Regions from separate parts of the Homo sapiens genome. Here region 2 is linked to region 1. The links are contacts of gene promoters, found by promoter capture Hi-C in blood cells and fetal thymus (Javierre and others, 2016). All regions are on one chromosome and are shown on one strand. Each heading gives the region's core, a stretch centred on a gene start or on the middle of the fragment in contact. The rest is flanking DNA. Distances are from core to core; before and after follow the strand shown. Region 1 holds the start of NDST2 (N-deacetylase and N-sulfotransferase 2). Region 2 holds the start of SEC24C (SEC24 homolog C, COPII component).

Region 1 (2,547 bases), core at 22-2,521:
GGAGCCGGTGGATCCGAGCGGGTGCCACCAGCGGCGGCGCGCCGCCTCCCCCGGTGGGAGCGGTGGTTGGGCCAGGCTGCGGCAGAGCGTTCGCTCGGAGATGGCGGAGCAGCCGCGACGCGGCCCGTGGCCCCGAAAGCAGGGAAGCCGGGCAGCCCCGGGACGCGGCGGAGCCCGGGGACAGCGGGGACGCCGCCCAGTCCTCCGGGTGAGCCGCCCCTGAGGAGACCCCCCCGCCCACGGTCGCGCTCAGGCCCCCCCAACAGACTCCCTTGGATGTTGCCACCATCACCACCCGCAGGGTCGTCCCGGGCGGCCCAGCGTGCGCCGCGCCCCGGGTCCTTTCCGCCGGCCTCCCTCAGAACCGCCTCGCTCCCCTCCGGACCGGGCGGGCTCCCTTCTTCCCGCAGGGCTCTCCCAGCCCAGAGGCTGTCTCGATGTCACCCCGGAGTCGCCGCCGCGCGCCTGTGGCCCCTTCCCCTTTGGTGTCCCACATCCGGTGCGCTCTTCGCATCCACCTGTGCCCCCGTCTCCTCTCGGCGGGGCCCCTCCACCCGCCAGCCCCGGGCCCCCTCGGCGCCCGCAGCCTCCGCGCCGCTGCTCCGGCCGTCCCGGCCTCCCCAAGCCCGGGCCCGGCCCCGGCCCCCGTCTGGCTTCGCCGTCCTCAGAGATCTCCCGCACACACCCACCCCGCCCAGCCCTGCTGGCCCTCAGTGTTCACTGGCCCGGCCTGCGGCGCTCCCGGCGCCCCTTCCCTAAACCTTGCTGCTTCTTCCAGGTATGAAGCTAAAATGCAGCGGCTAAGAACGCGGCTCTGGAGCTTGACAGGCCTGACGTCGAATCCCAGCCCTCCCACCAACTGAGCTGTGTGATCCTGGGCAAGGTTCTAAGCTTCTCTGAGTTACTCATATGTGAAATGGGGATAATGGAGCATGTACCTTTTCCCTACCTCTTAGGGCTGGTGTGAAGATTAAATATATGTGAAGCTCTTAGAAGAATGGCTGGCAAGTTGTAATTTCTCAAATACGGGATGATACACCCTGAGTATCAACTTCCCGTCAGTGACCTCCTCACTACAATGTTTTCTCTAAAGTTGCATCACATTCTTAGCATTCACCCCTTCCCGTCACCATTTTGATCCTCTCCCCCAGCTGTCTTCTCGTGTCGTTTTACCTAGGCCAAAGCTGAACTGTTTTATTTTTATTTTTATTTTTATTTTTTTTTGAGCTGGAGTCTAGCTCTGTCACCCAGGCTGGAGTACAGTGGCACAATCTCAGCTCACTGCAATTTCCGCCTCCCACGTTCAAGTGATTCTCCTGCCTCAGCCTCCTGAGTAGCTGGGACTACAGGCGCCCACCACCATGCCCATCTAATTTTTGTATTTTTAGTAGAGACGGGGCTTCACCATGTTGGCCAGGCTGGTCTCGAACTCCTGACCTCAAGTGATCACCCGCTTCGGCCTTTCACAGTGCTGGAATTACAGGCGTGAGGCACCACGCCTGTCCTGAACTGTTTTTAAATCATCTCTGTCAATTCTGAAGGACCTCAGCTCTGCCTTATCACCCCTGAGATGTGTGTTTGGGGGTGGGTGGTAGAGAGGGATTGCCAGCCTTACAAGGAGGCTGAGTGGGGATAGTGACAATAAAGCTTACAGAAGCAGTCGATTTAAGAAAAAGAACAGACTCAGGAGGCTGAGGCCGGAGGATTGTCTGTCTGACCCCAGGAGTTCAAGACCAGCCTGGGCAACGTAACAAGACCCCCATCTCTAAAAAAAATTAAAAATTAGTAGGGTGTGGTGGTGCAAAGCTGTAGTCCCAGCTACATGGGAGGCTGAGGTGGGAGGATCACTTGAGCCCAGGAGTTTGAAGCTGCAGTAGGCTATGATCACACTAGCACACTGTATCCTGGGTGACAGAGCAAGACTCCATCTAAAAATAATAAAAGAGATCCCCAAAATTAGACCTCCTTAAAACTGTTTTCTGATCACACTGTCCTTTTTCCTTCTGTCATTGGTTGGATGTGACTTAAGCTCCTGTTGCTCTCTGTCATCCAGTCCTTACTCAAGTTGTTCTGTTTGTGTAACTGGACTCAATACCTCATGTCTCTCCAGACTAGCTCAGGGACTCTTCTGAGCTGTTTAGGAATAGGGTTGTAGAACTACTTAGGCTAAGTTAGGAAGGAGAAGTAGAGTGGACTCAGCTGTATGGCTTTTCTCAGCACCCAGTGTGTGGCCTGCTCAGGGGTTACATTTTTATCTCCTGACTGGCAAAGTTGAGGTGAAGGTCAGGGGCAGGTAATGTTTCACAAGCAACGGGTAAGGGAGTCCCTAATTTCTGGGTTTGGAAACTGGTAGAATGATTACCTATCATGAGGATTGCTCTTTCCTTTTGAACTCCCCCACCATAGTGTCCACCTGACTGCAAGTTCGTTAAAGCTGTTGGCTGTGATATTGGGTTTGATTGATGAGAAGATTAACAGACTCATGAGTTCCTTATCTGATATTTTGTTGGAGCATGGGACTTCTGAAGACTTCCGGGGCTTTCCGTC
Region 2 (2,547 bases), core at 23-2,522, 66 kb after region 1:
CCGGGAGGCGGAGATTGCAATAAGCCGAGATCGTGCCACTGCACTCCAGCCTGAGCAATAGAGCAAGACGCCCTTTCAAAAAAATAAAAAATAAAGGACACCTGAAAACTCTAGCAAGGTAACAGATTAAAACCAAGTGCAGAACAGGCACCAAAACTTCTTCACATAATCTGAGGAAACAGTTCAAGAATCAGGGGCAAAGTTAGAGTTAGATTTCATGGAAAAAAATCATTCACCTCATCCCTCAAGCAGAAGACTATGAATATTCTAAATTCCAATGCACTTCTCCAACTCTCCTGTTTCTGCTCCCCTTACGATTGTTATGAATCTCAGCCACCATCAAAATTATTACAATCTTGCTCATCAACACAGGGATGAATTAGAGGGCCTTTTCTAAACAGGGTCCTTCCAAGAAAACTATCTCATCACATCTACTTTCAACAGCTGTATCATTCCAATTATCCTGTAGACAGAAGGGGCCCAGAAAGCAGGAGCACTCAGAGTTGCTGCAAAGGGAACAATGGACCTCTCCCCCTTTGCTAGAAGGGCCACCTTGACTATAGAAAAGGAGCTGATCCTGGTCTAAAACTCTTTAAACTCAAAGTTATCTCAATAGCTGTTCTTCCAAACCCTAAACCTTACAGAGGTAGGTCACTGACACTAAGTTTAAAATATGTCCTCTCCCTTTATGTTTCCAAAGCCGGGGGGAGGGGTAAAGAAAGGAGCTTCTTCTCCAGAAAATAATCCCCTCAAACACATTCAAGAGCTTGGAGTCAGACTGAAGTCTCGACTCCATTCTGGGTGGATAGTCGAGGGTGACAACCCAAGGGGGCGGGGCAAGCTTCCTAGAACTCTGAAAGTAGTCAAGCCATGGAGCCTCGGAGAGCCGAGGATCAAAACCGAGAAGCCAAGTCGGCTTCTAGGGCCACGTTAAGAGAGGGGGCTGCTCTGTTAAGCACAGAGACCAAACGTCTTGCACCTTTTAACAGGCTCGGGGCAGGAAGCAGGAGCCGGAATCTGGGCCGGGAGACGAAGGGATGGTCTAGGACCTGCTCCTGGATGGTGGATGCGTGAGGTGAGGGTCTCTACCCAGGCCCCGCCCCCAGGCTCCTCCCTTCTTTCTGAAACCGGACCCCAATCTGGCCAGTAATACCCTGACCTCTCCTTTGCTTTCCTACCCGCCAACCTCCCGATGCCACTCCTCACCCGGCTCCAGATCCAGGTTAGACTTCGTTCCTAACGTCAAGGCTCCCAGGCTCCACTTCCGGTTCCGAGGGGGCCGTCCCGTCACCCCCGGAAGTTCCTCCTCCACGCTTTAGGGCCGGGCCACTTCTTCTGCCACGTCTGCATTTCGGGGACCCGGATGCCGCGCATGCGCCTCTTTCATCTTCCCATCATGGCCGCCGCCTGTGCGCCTCTGCTGAGTCGTATGTATTTCCCTCCTGACATTTTTTTTCAGATGTTCCAGTCACTTTATGGCCTCACCAACAGAAATGAGATTAAAAAGAATTTGTCAAACTATCTTTAATAATGCCCCTTCACTCTGCCTGTGACGTATTAGTGACCTCTGAGCTAGAGTCTTGTAGTCACTTCCTGGTGACCCCTGACCCCGTTGATTTCCGTCCGCTAGGTTGCTCTCACCCATGGCGTTTGCTGGTTATGAGATTTGCGGAACGTGTGGTGGTGGTAAAGGGCACCAACTGTTGTCAACCTGCATGTGGGGGTCTGAGGTCTGGCTCTACAGCTTGTAAAATGGAAATAATAATGCCCAGAGGATGAAATTAGGCCACATAGGCCGCTTGGCATCATAGTAAGCACTCAGTAAAGGTCAATTGTTATTAACCATTTTTATACAGCGCCTTTGTTTAGGTGCAGAGCTTTATCAGAGCCAAAAGATCTCTGCGCTCTGTTGGAAAAGATAGTTCCTGCAGTAATTATTAGTACCCCATTTAATGGCTAAGTAATTATAGCTAACAGTGCTAGGATTTCTTTTTCATATATGACTTCATTTGAACTTTTCAGTACTATTTGTTGATTTCATAATTTTTCGAGCACTGCTGTTGAAACTGCCTTTGCAAAATTACAACTGAGGAAATTATGATAGTGGAAGAAATCAGACTTAACCGACTCCATCTTGCTTCTAACCTTTAAGCTGTCCTTATTCATTCCTGGGTGTAGGTGGAACTAACTTTGGGGAGGAATTCAGTTTATGGTTTGAAACAAAATTGATAATAGCCCCTTCCCGAAAAGACCCCCTTCTTGCCTGGGGACCAGTCTGTCTTTACAGGACTAACAAATTAGCTACAAGATTACAAATTACAGTTTAGGGGACATGCAGCCTCTCGCTCCAAGAGTCTGAACCTCCCCAAATTGCTTTTAGGAATAACATAACTATTGTAAAACCTAAGATTAGTGCTTGAGATGTTTTGCAGACCCTGCACTCATTGGATCAGCTGACTACCTAGACCAGTAACCTGGCTCAATCAGTTCTGCCATTCCACCCAGGAACAGAAAACAGCAAGAAAACCTCACTTTGACTCCCTGTGA

Evidence for each region. The method cuts DNA at HindIII sites, captures the fragments that hold promoters and counts their contacts. A CHiCAGO score of 5 or more calls a contact.
Region 2: a contact is called between the fragment with the promoter of SEC24C here and a fragment that was not itself captured in region 1, in 6 of 17 cell types (fetal thymus, non-activated CD4 T cells, naive CD4 T cells and 3 more). The highest score is 7.3, in fetal thymus.

What each region holds. Positions count from the first base shown.
Region 1 is chr10:73,809,135-73,811,681 of GRCh38, reverse strand. NDST2 (N-deacetylase and N-sulfotransferase 2) reads left to right here and starts at 84. Exons shown (of 15, transcript NM_003635.4): 1 at 84-208; 2 at 779-883. It overlaps NDST2-ZSWIM8-AS1 (NDST2-ZSWIM8-AS1 readthrough), which reads left to right. Exons shown (of 18, transcript NR_182658.1): 1 at 1-208; 2 at 779-883. RefSeq lists silencers at 1-279, 580-649. The HindIII fragment of the contact is 756 bases long and covers 894-1,649 here.
Region 2 is chr10:73,743,097-73,745,643 of GRCh38, reverse strand. It overlaps SEC24C (SEC24 homolog C, COPII component), which reads right to left and starts at 1,272. Exons shown (of 23, transcript NM_198597.3): 1 at 1,207-1,272. It overlaps LOC124902453 (a long non-coding RNA gene), which reads left to right and starts at 1,379. Exons shown (of 2, transcript XR_007062195.1): 1 at 1,379-1,427; 2 at 2,433-2,547. RefSeq lists enhancers at 757-1,323, 1,224-1,653, 1,324-1,891, 731-1,930. The HindIII fragment of the contact is 9,340 bases long and covers 844-2,547 here.